Regions from separate parts of the Homo sapiens genome. Here all the other regions are linked to region 1. The links are contacts of gene promoters, found by promoter capture Hi-C in blood cells and fetal thymus (Javierre and others, 2016). All regions are on one chromosome and are shown on one strand. Each heading gives the region's core, a stretch centred on a gene start or on the middle of the fragment in contact. The rest is flanking DNA. Distances are from core to core; before and after follow the strand shown. Region 1 holds the start of SNAP91 (synaptosome associated protein 91). Region 2 has its middle 82 kb from the start of CEP162. Region 3 has its middle 46 kb from the start of CEP162.

Region 1 (4,644 bases), core at 639-3,138:
CTCATTCAGTACCTTGAATTTATTTCAGTTTGGTATGGTAACATACCTCACACACACACACACACACCCATACTCACAAAAACAATCCTCAGGAGCAACACTTAAAAAGATTATACTACCTTAGAACTATCTGAAATGTATTTAGGAAAGAACTAGGGTGACAAGTTTGACCTTCCATAAATTCATCTTTTTTTTTTTTGACTGTGCAACCTCTAATTTCCTCTAATTTGGAGAAGGGAGGGTGGGTGGAGAAAGAAAAAAAGGTGAAAAACATCTAATTCAGTGTGTACAATCTCTCTCTTGTGTGTGTGTATATACATATGCGTGTGTGTGTGTGTGTGTGTGTGTATTTTTCCCCCTCCACCAAGACCTTGGAGGTCAATAAGAGGAAAAAATGGCTCACAAGACAAGGTTTCATGGCTAACCCAAGGGAACACCTTCACAGCTGAAGAATTTCAGCTCAGGGGCAACCTGGCTGGGAGTATCAGAGGCCACAGCATTATGGACCAAGAGCGCAGGCCGCACCACCAGCATCCCAGGCGCCTCTGCCGTGCGCATGTCCCTCTTATATAAAGAGATGCTTACAGTCCAGGTGCTTTTTCTTGGGGCCCATTACTTCATGAGTAGTGGCTTTGCAGACCGCTCTTGCTACAGCAGAGCCTGTAACGCTGTACTGAGCGGCGGCGATCCGATCCGTGAGCGTTTGGCCCGACATCTTCTGTGGTCGCGTCTACCGCCTCCTCTTCTGCAGGAAACAAGGGGAGACGGTCCGGCTTTAATCCGCAGACCCTACCCTCCAAGCACCCAGGCCTTGCCTCCTCCAGCCGCGCGGCGGCTCTCTCCTCCTCCATCCCCACCCTGGCACCACCTCTCGGAGCCAGCAACGCGCCAAGCCCCGCTCCTGCGATGCGGTCCAGGGAGTCTTGGCCGTGAGTAGGGCCGTCACGGAACCCCAGCGTGGGCTCCAGTCGCAGCATCGTGACACCGTCCCCATTCTCCCCCGGCCCCCACATAGGGCCAGACTCACCCCCTGGGGACCCCCCTGTCAATCAGCACTTTCCCCGCAACCTGACCCGCGGGTGCTGGACTAGCCACAACGTGCGTTGGGGTTATTCCCTGGGCGCCGCACCCACCGGTGCCCATCTCCCACCTCAGCAGACTTTCCTCCTAGCAGCCCGCAGGCTTCGGGGAATGCATCGGATACCCAAGCCCTGGCTGCCTCCCTCCTCCTCCTCGCGCTGCTGCAGCAAAGGGCTCGTCCTCCCTCAGTCGCGAAGGAGATTATCCTAGCGTTGCGCCATGTTATGCCCTCGCCTCCCCTTCCTTCCTCGCCGCCGGCTCCAAAGCCTCGCCGAGGCCCATCGCCCGGGCCCCTTCCCCCCGGTTCCAAATCCCTGCCGCAGGGGCCGCCCGGGAGCTCTGCGGAGGCGCCGGAGTCTTGGGGCGCCTCACCCTTCCTGGCTTTGGAGAGGAGCCGGGCTGACAGCGAAGCCCAGTCCCCCGCCCGCCCTGGAGCGCTCCGCGGAGCTGTCACTCGGCCGCTGCCCTTCTCCGCACCCTGGGATTATCCTCTGCGGATCCCCGCGAGACCCTGGCGCGGGGAGGGGGCCGAGTACGGCCGCGGGTACTCACCCCGCCCCTGAGCGGCGCCGCCCGCCGCAGGATGAGCGGAGCCCGGGCCGCCGAGGGAAGCCGCGCCGGTGGATGTGTGCGACCGCGCGTAGCCCCGGTGCCCCCGGGCGCAAAGTCTCCAGCCCTGGCCGGGCCCCGCTCCTCAGCTCCGCGGTCCCGGCGCCCACCGCCCCTGGCCCCTGGCCCCAGAAGCCAGTACCCGCCCGCCGCCGCCTCTTCTGCCAGCGCCGCCGCGTCTCTCTAGCGCTCCGAGCTGCGTCCCCATCCCCGCCCCCACCTCAGCTGTGGCTCCTCCGACGAGTCAGGTGACGGCGGCGGACAAACCCGGACGAGCCCTCGGCGGAGCGCCTCGCGGCCCCCTCCCAGCTACTCACACACACCGCCCCCCGGGGCCGGGAGCTTAAAGGCGAGGGGGCGCCTCGCGCAAGCATCCCCGGCAAGCCGGCGGGGAGAAGAAGGAGGCGGGGAGGCCGACACCCACCCAGCCAGCGGCTCTCCGCTGGGCGCCGGGCCGCCCCTCCGCTGCTGGCGCCGCACCCGGCACGCACTGGGCTCGCGCACCACGCACACCTGCCCGCCGACTGCGGGGGGAGCCCTGGGCGTTGGGGGCGTTGGCCAAGACGGGCGAGTGGGCTTCTCGGGTTCTACTCTGTGAAGGCCAAGGCAAGGGCGTCGTCGCGCGCTGCCTGGCGGAGCCCAGCCCCTTCCCCACACTGTCGCTGACACGCCCGCCTGTCAAAGGCTCCGAGGCCCAGATGAGCAGGGCGATTTTAAATGTCAGATCCTGCCGGCCATCCGCGACCGTCACCTGTGCGTCTTCAGCTCCTCAGGCTCCTCCGCTTGTCTCAGTTACAACTGGGAGCCCGGGTGGGCAGGTAATTCTAGCCACTTTAGTCTTAAACGGATACTGAGGTCTGCTGAAGGGAGAATAATTAACACAGCCGTTAATCGAGTCCCAGATTACCTTCGACAGTAATCATTTGCGTGCATAAAGAAAACCCTTTGTACCCTTAAGAAGTAATTTCTGCCAATTAAATATAGTGTTGGAACGTCCGTCAATTGTATGTCAAGTGTATATTCGAATAGTAAGCAGGAATTTCTAAACAGGGATGTGGAGTTGGTTAATAGCTTCACGTGTTGACATTTTCAAAGGTTGTTATTTATGTTCACCTTTTTTTTTAATTCTCACAGTAGCATGAAGATCAAAACTATATTTGTGAGCTTTCCTGGCATTTTTTCTCCTTGCTTCGGGTGGCTTCTGCTCGGCCTTGAAGCCATATATCGATACCTATCGATCTCAACGTTTTGTTATATATTCCTCTCTTTCACCTGGTACAGTGTTCAGTATGCAGTCATGATTTCCTAACTACTGAGACTGATTCTAGGACTAATTGGAAGCTTAATGACTAAAGAGAGACAGCTTAAGAGCACTATTGTCTCAAGTACTAGTCTTACCATATTTACAAGGGAAATAAAAACGCAATTCTATTAAAAAAACTTGTACTCCAGTTTTATAGCAGCTTAATATAATGGCCCCAAACTGGAGGAAAGCCAAATGTTATTCTACTAGTAAATGAATAAACAAAATATGGTATATCCACATAATGGAATACTACTTAGCAATAACAAGAAACAAACTAATACCATTCATGAATCTCAAATTCATTAGACGAAGGGAAAGAAGCTCTATCAAAAATTCTACTTATTATTTTGATTTCATTTATGTAACATTCTGGAAAAGTCAAAACTATAGAAACAGAAAACACATCAGGTGCCGAGTCAGGTGACGGTGGCATTGGGGGAGGGGACTGCAAAGGGGCAGAAGGAAACTTTTTGGAGAGATGGAAATGTTTTATATCGTGACGGTGATGATGATTATACAGCTGCATGTATTTCTCAAAACTCATCAATTTGTACACTTAAAATTGGCGAATTTTGTTGTTTGTTAATTATACCTCAATATAATCTGATAGAGTTGGGAGTGGCAATATTAATATCAAAGTAGGTTTTACAATAAGGAATATTAATAGCAATAAACAGGCACATTTCATAATGAAAAATTCATTAAGAGCATGGAACAATTCTACTTGTTTGTATATCTAAGAACAGAGCTTCAAAGTAGGACGAAGCAAAACCTAATAGCATTAAAAGGAGAAACAGGCAAATCCACAATTATACTTCAGGATTTCAGCACTTTTCTCTATGTAATAAATAGGACAAGTAGACAGGAAACCTGTAAGGGTATAGATGACTTGAAATAGCCCTGTAGGCCGGACGCGGTTGGCTCATGCTTGTAATCCCAGCACTTTGGGAGGCCGAGCCAGGCAGATCATGAGGTTAGGAGATCAAGACCATCCTGGCTAACACGGTGAAACCCCGTCTCTACTAAAAATACAAAAAAAAAAAAAAATTAGCTGGGCGTGGTGGTGGGTGCCTGTAGCCCCAGCTACTCAGGAGGCTGAGGCAGGAGAATGGCGTGAACCCGGGAGGCGGAGCTTGCAGTGAGCGGACATCGCGCCACTGCACTTCAGCTGGGGTGACAGAGCAAGACTCTGTCTCACAAAAAAAAAAAAAAAGAAAGAAATAGTCCTGCAGACCAACTTCACCTAATTGACATTTATAAAATAGTCCACCCAACAGTAGTGGAATACTTTCTTAAAGTGTGCATGGAATATTCTCCAGGATTGACCATACTGACTGATCCTAAGCCATGAAGCTAGTCTCAATAAATTTAAAAGGATTATAATCATACACATTATGTTCTCTTACCACAGTGGAATTTAACTAAAAATCGGTGACAGATAGATATATGGAAATCTCTAAATATTTGGTAATTAAACAACACATTCCAAATAACCCATAGGTCTAATTTTCTCATAAGAAAATTGGAAATTTATTTGAACTAAATAATAATGAAAATCCAACATATCAAAATTTGTGGGTTGCAGGCAAAGTGGTGATTAGAGGCAAATTTATAGCATTAAAATGCTTAGGAATGAAGAAAGATCTAAA
Region 2 (4,644 bases), core at 1,354-3,853, 600 kb after region 1:
TGCGTAGTATTCCATGGTCTATAGGCACTACATTCTCTTTACCCAGTCTTCCACTGATGGGCATTTAGGTTGATTTCATGTCTTTGCTATTGTGAATAGTGCTGCAACGAACATACACGTGCATGTGTCCTTATAAAAGAACAATTTACATTCTTTTGGATATATACCCAGCAATGGGATTGCTGGGTCAAATGGTAGTTCTGCTTTTAGTTCTTTGAGGAATTGCCACACTGCTTTCCACAATGGTTGAACTAATTTAAAAACTCTCATCAATGGTGTATAAGTGTTCCTTTTTCTCCACAACCTTGCCAGCATCTGTTATTTTTTGACTTTTTAATAATAGCCATTCTGACCTGTGTGAGATGGTATCTCACTGTGATTTTGATTTGCATTTCTCTAGTCATCAGTGATGTTGAGCTTTTTTCATTTGCTTGTTGGCTGCATGTATGTCTTCTTTAGAAAATTGTCTGTTCATGTCTTTTGCCCACTTTTTAATGGGGTTGTTTTTTTCTTGTAAATGTATTTAAGTTCCTTATAGATGCTGGATATTAGACCTTTGTCAGATGCATAATTTGAAAAAATTTTCTACCATTCTGTAGGTATCTGTTTACTCTGTTGACAGTTTCTTTTGCTGTGCAGAAGCTCTTCAGTTTAATTAGCTCCCATTTTTTCAATTTGTCACTCTGGCCTCAAATTTTTTAAGTAGTCATAAAAATGAGACAATATGTGTGCATGCATATAAGATCAACACTTCATTCTTAAAAGGGTTCTTTTAGCAGTAAACTTTCTACTCAAAGAGAATCTGACAGTTTTTAAAGAAAGGGACCACCCACATTCCTTAGGCTGCTGTTACAAAGGGAACAATATCTTTAAAGTTAGTATCTTTTTAGTTAGGTGGCTAAGAAAAAATTTTTCAAAAGTAATGCATTTCAAGATAGAGAAATGTGTTTTGAGCTAGTTTTGCCACCCTCCAATTTCAATTTAAAATATACTCCAAAACATTAAATTCTTTCTATTTTATCCTAATATTTTATTTACAGACAGACTTATTAACCAATACGGTAAGTTTCATGATATTGGATCTAGGTTACTATAGGAAATACTCAAGCAGGGCTTAGCAGGAAAAAAAGTAGGTCATGCCATCCATATATCTGCCTCTGTCATTAAAAAAACTGCTTCTCTCGATGTGATCATGTCATCAACACTAACATGAACTTTTGATTTCTGCCTGTTTTTCTGGACTATCAGTTAGTATTGCTGGCTGCTTTTCCCCCCTGCTCCTCTGTAAACACCTGTAAAGGTGTTCATTTTAGGAAATCTTTTGTTTCAGAAGAAATCTAAAATTTGAAATTTTTTTGTTTTCTTAAAATAGAGCTACAGAACATTTCATTGACTTAATACATGAGTGAAGAGAATCTGGATGAGGCAATTAAATATTTTCCAATCCTGATAACATGTGCAGACAGAGCTGTATCAATACCCTCATAAAGAAAATTACACTAGAAAAATACTTTTATGTAGAAAACAACTTTTACAATATTAATTTTACCCTGAATCATACTTTTAAATGTATAAGTTGCTGCTTACTCACAGTTGTGTTGCAAACAGAAAAATATAATATCAACTTATTATAAGACATTTGCCTACATCTTAATTGCAACATTTATTATTGCATTCAAATGCATAGGTACAGATCTTCAATAAAATATTAAAATAAAAATCATAGGCAGATGATAACCTCTTTGTCTTTTAAATTATAAACTGCTTATATACTACTTCTGAGGTGCAGCATACTTCCTCATAAATTGAAGGAAGCTGATCCTTTGAGAATATTGATCAAAAGATGACCAGCTGTGAAGCAGTTTGGAGTTCAGAGGTCTAGATAAGTGGAGATTTTACATAACTATGTGGGGGAACCTGGTTCTCTTCTGGGTCTGCAGAATGTCTTGAACCTTTTTTCAATGTTTTGGGTTTGGCAAACCCAAAATATGTTTTGCTAAGCAGTTTTCTCTTCACTTTAAACCCATGTGTATTATAAAGGAAATTTAATCCGTATGTTTTTGATTCTTTTACACTTAACTCATCAAAATGTTGTTTTGTAAGAGCTATTTGATGTCCAAGAAGACTTTGAGTCTTTTTATAACTTTAAAAAAGCTTCCCCCCGCTTAGAAACAGGAAGTTGTGCTTTTCTGAGAGTAAACAAACAAAAAACTTAGAAGCTAGTTTCTTAGAAGACTTCAAACCTAGGATAAATTAATAATAATAAAGCAAACACTATTTCCTTGGTTTGCTCTAAGCATTTTTCATGTTTTAAGTTATTTAATTCTTGCAACTATCATATGAGGGAAGTTCAGTTACTTCCTCTGTTTTAAGTTAAGTTACCTGTCCAAAGGTCATACAACTTATGAGGTGGAGCTGGGATTGGAAACTAGGCAGTTTATGTCCCAACTTTCAGCAATTAAACATATTACCTATTTCTATAGTACTGTCCTGAAATTTAAGAATTTTGGATATTACTTAAAATTACTTATGAACCAGTAGAGTACTAGATACTGAGAAGATTGTATTTTTACCCCTAAGAGAGTTTACTTTGTAATGGGCACACATGGACTAAAGGAAAAACAAAACAAAATAAGAAACAAACAACCCTGAATGAAATCCTGCACATTTTTTCGATATCATTCATCTAACACATACATATAGAATATCTACTAATGGCAGGCTCTGTTCTGGTCATTGAGGATACTGAGGTCATGGAGCTGGTATCTTGATGGATACTGTGTTCCTCCTCTAAGAGCAGACTTGGAACTTGGAAAAATGCCTAGATGGCTTCAGATGTTTCCAGCAGTGATAGGCAGGTCGAGAGGCAGCTGGGATGACCTGTAGCAACCCCCATCCAGCCTATGCTCTTGGGAGAACGTGTGTCCTGCAGAAGCTGTGGGTGTTTGGGGCATCCAGTCTCGCACTCCAGATGCCGGTGAATATTTTCTTCCTAGCAAAGTTATTCCTTTCCTCAAGGACTTCAAGAAGCTAGTATTCCTGTTTATGGAAAATAAGCTTTTTATCCTTAAAAGTCTTCACGAAGTTTTGGGAGGCCGAGGCGGGGATCACGAGGTCAGGAGATAGAGACCATCCTGGCTAACACGGTGAAACCCCGTCTCTACTAAAAAATACAAAAAACTAATTAGCTGGGGGTGGTGGCAGGCGCCTGTAGTGCCAGTTACTCGGGAGACTGAGGCAGGAGAATGGGGTGAACCCGGGAGGCGGAGCTTGCAGTGAGCCGAGATCGCGCCACTGCACTCCAGCCTGGGCGACAGAGCGAGACTCCATTTCAAAAAAAAAAAAAAAAAACAAAAAGTATTAATAAAGTTAGATAATAAAACACCTTAAAGGTCTTCAGGGAATTTTACTCTCCTTACTACACATTGGTATGTTTTACTGCATCTCAATTATGAACAAGAGATTACAGTAAAAACGGGAGGAAGTTTAACAGTTAGTATGTCAACATTTATTTGAACATTTTATGGGTGTTTTTCTTATAAAAGCAATACAAACATATTAAAAACAATTTGGAAAACAAAGTTAAAAAATGAAGTTCTACCCACAAACATAAGTTTAGCTGACATTTCTGGTGAGTATAATTGTGTAGTTTTAAAAAAATATCAATAATTGTCTTGCATTTCACTTACATGCTTACTTTTTCAATAACTTATTAAAAGAAAAGGAAGACCATGTTTTATCTCTTAAAATGAAATAATACAGTAGAATTTGGACCCTTGAATTTGGCTTTGCTTTACATTTGAGGAAGCTTAGGTTTTCTTTAAAAGAAGGAGATTTAAGACATCCTTAGGCTAATCAGAACTTTGATGACATGGCTTCCAATACAAAAAAATTCATTCAGGAAAGTGCGAGATGAAAGCTATGGGATGAGAGTTGTAGTGTGGTGAGGAAAAGTCAGCCAAAACTATACCTTTACTTAGGAAATGTGTCTTGGATTCCAAATCAAAATTCATTTAGTATGAAATGGAATAATTTAGAAAGAATGGATGCTACCAGTCCTCCCAGCCATATAAAACCCTAAAGTGGCTGGAAATAGCGAAACTTTGTCAGGCCTATGACAAATATATGCTTTTCTTCCAAGGCCTGAAAGAAAGGCTGAAATTAACTACATTTTGTGAAAATTACTCTTCTCATAAAGATTGTTTGTAAGAACACCTTTAAAAGGTTTAAAATGTAAAAACCTCTAAAACTCTAAAATACGTTGAAATACAAGCCTAAAGTATTAAACACTGTAAATTTTCTCAAATAAAAGAAAAAAGAATAGTACTTTTATTTGTGTTGAGAAGTAATGTAAAAACATACTAAATAAAAAAAATCAATGGGTTGAAAAAAGACTTATGTTTTTAATCTTTCCGTTAAATACCTCTGAGTAACCAAAATGCTTTTGCTTCAAGTGGTTTTCCTGGTTCGGCCAATAAGTCTTTCTTAGCTTTGAAAATTTTATTCAAATATCAAGGGAATGAAGAAAAATAAAGGTCCTTTAAAAGAAAAAAATGAGATCTCTGAGCCATGCAAGTTTCAATCTTTGAATTATCTTATTTGAAGGATTACCTTTTTTTTTGCAGGCTTGTTATAGTTTTTTGT
Region 3 (4,644 bases), core at 733-3,232, 560 kb after region 1:
TGAGGGAAAAGTGAGGGAGATAATAAATGGGCTCGGTGGACAGAAGCAAACACGGGCTCTGCAGTCCAGGTAGACATGGGCTCAAATTCTGACTCTGCTACTTCCTTACTTAGACACATTCTTTACCTTTTTATTTCATTATCTGAGAAGTGGGAAAATTTGCAGTCATTTCACAGGGGTGTTTTGAACACTAAATAGGATACCACATAGAAAATGCCCAGCACTGTGCCTAATGTATAAAAGGTGTTCAGCAAACATTGGTTCCTTCCCCCAGAAAGGCAATAAAGGACCCATAGCTGAGGGTATAAGGGAATGTTTGCAAATAAGTGGCCTATGAGTGGAGTATTGAAGGATGCACAGAATTTCACACTAATAATTTGAAGGACACTGTAGAGAAAGACAGAACAGCAAAGGCTTAAGGAAAGAAGCTTGTTTGGGGGAATGACATGCAGTTCAATTTGACTAACTAACAGGATACAAGCAAGAGGGTTTTGTGTAGGGATGGGCTATAGAGGCCTTGTAGGGCCTCCAAATGCAATGTGAGGAATTATAAAATTCTGTGACCAAAAAGTGTCAGTGGGATATGTAGTGGGCACGATACATTGTCCCAAAGAAACATTGATCTGGTGACAGTATATTCACTGGATTACAGTAGGGAGTGACAAAAGCTAGGGAATGATTTTAGGGTGGTTGAGAAGTAATGAAGATTTAAACTGGTGTGGCAGGAGGAAAGGGAGGGAGAGGACATGAAAGTGTGAGATGAGCAAAAAGGAAACTGGAATTTCTCCTTTGGTATCTGCCCATACTACACTCTCTTAACTCCCTACATAGATGCTTGTTCTTATCACACCTGAGGAAATTTTGTTTGTTTTCAGGCTCACCTCTTCTACTGGTCTAAGAGTTCACTGAGGACTATATTTTGTTCATCTTGGTATTTCTAGACTCTATTGCAGAGCCTGAGAACATAGTCCTTGAAAAGAGTTTGTTTTTTATTTTTAAATATATTTTATTTTTAAATTTTTAAAATTTTTAATTTTTGTAGGTACATGAGATGTTATGTACAGGCATGCAATGTGAAATAAACACATCAAGAAGAATGGGGGTATCCGTCCCCTCGATCATTTATCCATTGAGTTGCAAATGATCCAATTGTACTCTTCAAGTTATTTTAAAATGTACAGTTATTACTGATTAAACAGGCAAAAACAAATGCTGGCAAGGATGTGGTGAAATGAGTTTATTTAACACGAGAATAAATGTGGAATATGGACAAAAACATATACAATGGTAAGAGGAAAATAGAAAAGAGAGCAAAAGATAAGTGAAATGGGGAAGGAAGTAAGGAGAAAGATGAGAGGGTTGTTTTGGAACAGCTTGAGTTCATTCACAACCAGGGATGTGGAATTGTAGCCATTTAAAAAATTAGATTAACACTTCCCTTCTTTTTTTCTTTTACCCTGAAGCCCTCACCCCATGCTCTGCCCTTAATAAATAATACTTGATGAAGATGGTGATGATGTGTCCTCTTCATGCTAATCCAGGCAGTTCCCAGTTTATGAACGGATTGGGTTCCAAAAATCTGTTGTAAGTCAGTTGTTTAGCTATTGGAATGTATTTTTCCTTTGAGACAATGTAACACTCAGTGGTTAAATTCTCCAACTACTTCACAAAAGGTTATTTAATCCACAACGTGTTGGAATTATAGTGCTAATGTACTGCAGAATAGTAATTCCTTATAGGCATATTATGTACCTCTTGATGGTTTACAAAGTGGTTTTGCATACATTTTGAAAAATGGAACATCTTTGCATATTTTTCCCATGGAAAAAATGTGTTCCAAATTTTAAATGTAGAGGCCAGTTACACATCCTCCACCCACTCTGGTCTCAGTGAAAAGACTTGGCTTCCAAAGAGAGGCTCCCACACTGTCCTCTCCAGAAGCCTCACTCCAAGGGAGATCCTAAGATGACAGCAGGGAGGTAGGATGGGTGTGTGTCAGTGCAGGAGGACTTTGCGGTGAGTTGAACCATCACTGGGTTTATAGTCAGTAGAGTGAGTTTGAATCTAGATTCTGCCACTTACCAGCTGGTAAACTATGTGAGTGTTAAGTTTCCACTTACGCAGAGTGAGGATACTGATATTTTCCTGATGGGGTTTGGTGATGTTCAAGATGAGAGGATGTATAAGGAGCATATGGCATACTACACACATAATGGATGCTCAAAAATGTTCTCTTTATCCTCTTCTGCACTTGCCCACCACCAAACCCTAATGAGGAGTGCGTAGACAGAGTTCCTGCGGTGATCAGTTTGCTGATGGGCAGGGCAAGGGTTCAGGAATCAGGGAGAGCCTAGGTGGAGGATGCTTCCGTGGTGAGCAACCAGTTCCCGGAGTCGGAGTAGTGAGGGCTCAGTAGTGCTGATTCTCCTGGATAACAGTGGCAACTTCACCATCCATTTCTGCATCAACATTGTGGGAAGCTCGATCAGAAAGAGAACGAGAATGGGATTGGGTACTGGCATTGTACCTAAATCTCAGTTGCTTGGCACTGTAGAGGTTTAGTGCTTGCTCACACTCATGTGAAGAAAGGAGCTTTCTTGTTTTCTTTTAAAGGTGTTTGGGTGATGGAGACTTTTTTCATCATGTGGCTCTGGCTGGCTTCACTGCTTGGCATCAAGCTGGTGGAAGAGAAAAGAAAAAGTACCATTGTAGGATTGTGTGTGGGAGATTTTCATTGGTCAAACCTAGAAGGGGCTCATATCACTTCTACTCATAGATTATTGGCTAGTGTCATGTGAGCGCATCAAACTGCAAAGGATTAGAAAGTATAGTCTTGTTGCTTTCCTAGGAGGAAGAAGAAATAGTTTTGGTGGTCAGCTAGCAGTCTTTGCCATGGATGGGAGTAGAGGTGCTACGTAGGTGCTTGTTGTTACAAGCTGTTTGCAAGTGAGTAATTATAAGTTAAAAAACCATCCTGACTATGATTTAAGATAAACAAGTCAAGCTAAATGAATACTAGAATATTCAAAATAAGATAGGGCCTGAGTGTTTTGGGGTAAACCTGTACATATACCCTAGTTCTTCTTCTCTGGAAGAAATGAAAGAGATGAAACGGACTAATACTAAACAGTTTTCAAAGTAGATTAAAGCATAATGATTCTTTAAATTTCCTCCACCAAGAAAATGTTTTAAAAATGCCAAATTTAATGATATAAATTAACTTCAGCTACTTTAACATACCAGTGCTGTCTGAAGACATAACTGGTCACTTTTTATGATGTTCCTTTCTTTCTTTGCTTTATTTAACAAATTTACTCAGGGTCTGGATATTTGAGTCACACCCTTAGCTGAGGATGATTAAGACAGTTATCGTCATTCCAACCTTCCCTGACTGACCTCAGAAAAGGTCCTATTTTATAGAAAGAGCCTGGATTTTGGAGTCTAATCACTTCAACAGGTCAAAGGTCTTCTAAGGCTCTACTATGTTCCAGACGATAGAGATAAGAAAATGTATAAGACATGGGATCATCCCCCAAGAAGCTTAAGGTCTAGTGATGGAGACAGGAATATAAATAAGTAATGGCACGTTGGGATGAGGGCAGCATTGGCCACATTGGTGTCTTGGATTAGGGAGAACTGAGAGTGGAGGGTGAGAGTAGATGGGGCAAGTGAGGAGGCTGGTTAGGAACCAGGGGTAGGCAGGAGCCACAACACAAAGGATCTTCTAAACCATGTTAAGGGGCTTGGCTGTTATCATATAGATGACTTCTACAGGAGCTAATTTCATTCTGGTGCACAAGCCCAGGAAGCTCAGAGGTATATTACCTACTGACTCAAGAATCATGCTAATTTATTTGTATAAATGGCTTTCCAAAACATCTCTGTGTGGTCTTACTCTATTGAATTATATTACCACAATTTATTTAGAATTCCCATATGTGCATGTGTGATGTTTTCTAGGGAGTACAAACATTTTTCAGATTAGTGTCATGGAAGTCCTCTATATATCAGAGGCAATAAAAGAGAGTTGCACATTATGTTTTCTGTGTCCTTTAGGCTTGTAAAATTATTTATTTTTTTTCCTAGATAAAAAGTTGCTCAAAATCAACTTAAAGTAAAATCTAAGTGCATCATTGAAAGTTTGGGGGTATTCCATGTTGTAGTGATTTAAATATTTTTTTTTAGTGAACAACATTTAAAAATCAGTCACTTTACTTATTCCAAGAAAGCAGGGAATGGGACTATAGAGGAAGGGTAAGTAACTATCTGTACCATATAACCCAAGACATTGCAGTTACTCTTTAAATGTGGGATTATTTGGAACATTTCTCAATTTGTGAAGCCCTGGCCATTAGAGTGGTTTTCAACCATGGCTGCTCATTAGAATTGCCTGGAAAACTTTGAAGTGTTCGGATGCCCAGGCCATATGCCAGACCAATTAAATCAGAAATCTCCACAGATGGGACGCAGGCATAAACATTTTTTAAAGCTTCCCAAGTGATTCCAATTCAAAACCCAGTTTGAGAAGTACTAGTCTATTAGGTAGGATTACCTGGTGCATGGAAACAGCAAGTTCCAATTAATCAGCTCAATTCATTTAAATCACGTGCCAGACACTGTGCTTGGTCCTGGGGGCTAAGACAC

What was found. Contacts are between HindIII fragments. The CHiCAGO score rates a contact against its expected background, and 5 or more counts as called.
Region 2: a contact is called between a fragment that was not itself captured here and the fragment with the promoter of SNAP91 in region 1, in 1 of 17 cell types (neutrophils). The highest score is 5.1, in neutrophils.
Region 3: a fragment that was not itself captured here is called in contact with the fragment with the promoter of SNAP91 in region 1 in 1 of 17 cell types (neutrophils); the score reaches 5.3 in neutrophils.

What each region holds. Positions count from the first base shown.
Region 1 is chr6:83,707,213-83,711,856 of GRCh38, forward strand. SNAP91 (synaptosome associated protein 91) reads right to left here and starts at 1,889. Exons shown (of 30, transcript NM_001242792.2): 1 at 1,633-1,889; 2 at 586-745. The coding sequence starts at 715. LOC105377879 (a long non-coding RNA gene) reads left to right here and starts at 2,230. Exons shown (of 3, transcript NR_136251.1): 1 at 2,230-2,507. RefSeq lists silencers at 858-1,152, 1,562-1,771, 2,102-2,161. The HindIII fragment of the contact is 3,637 bases long and covers 1-3,028 here.
Region 2 is chr6:84,307,452-84,312,095 of GRCh38, forward strand. No RefSeq gene overlaps it. Among named protein-coding and RNA genes, the nearest start is that of CEP162, 82 kb to the left of the region's middle. The HindIII fragment of the contact is 903 bases long and covers 2,153-3,055 here.
Region 3 is chr6:84,271,705-84,276,348 of GRCh38, forward strand. No RefSeq gene overlaps it. Among named protein-coding and RNA genes, the nearest start is that of CEP162, 46 kb to the left of the region's middle. The HindIII fragment of the contact is 3,112 bases long and covers 427-3,538 here.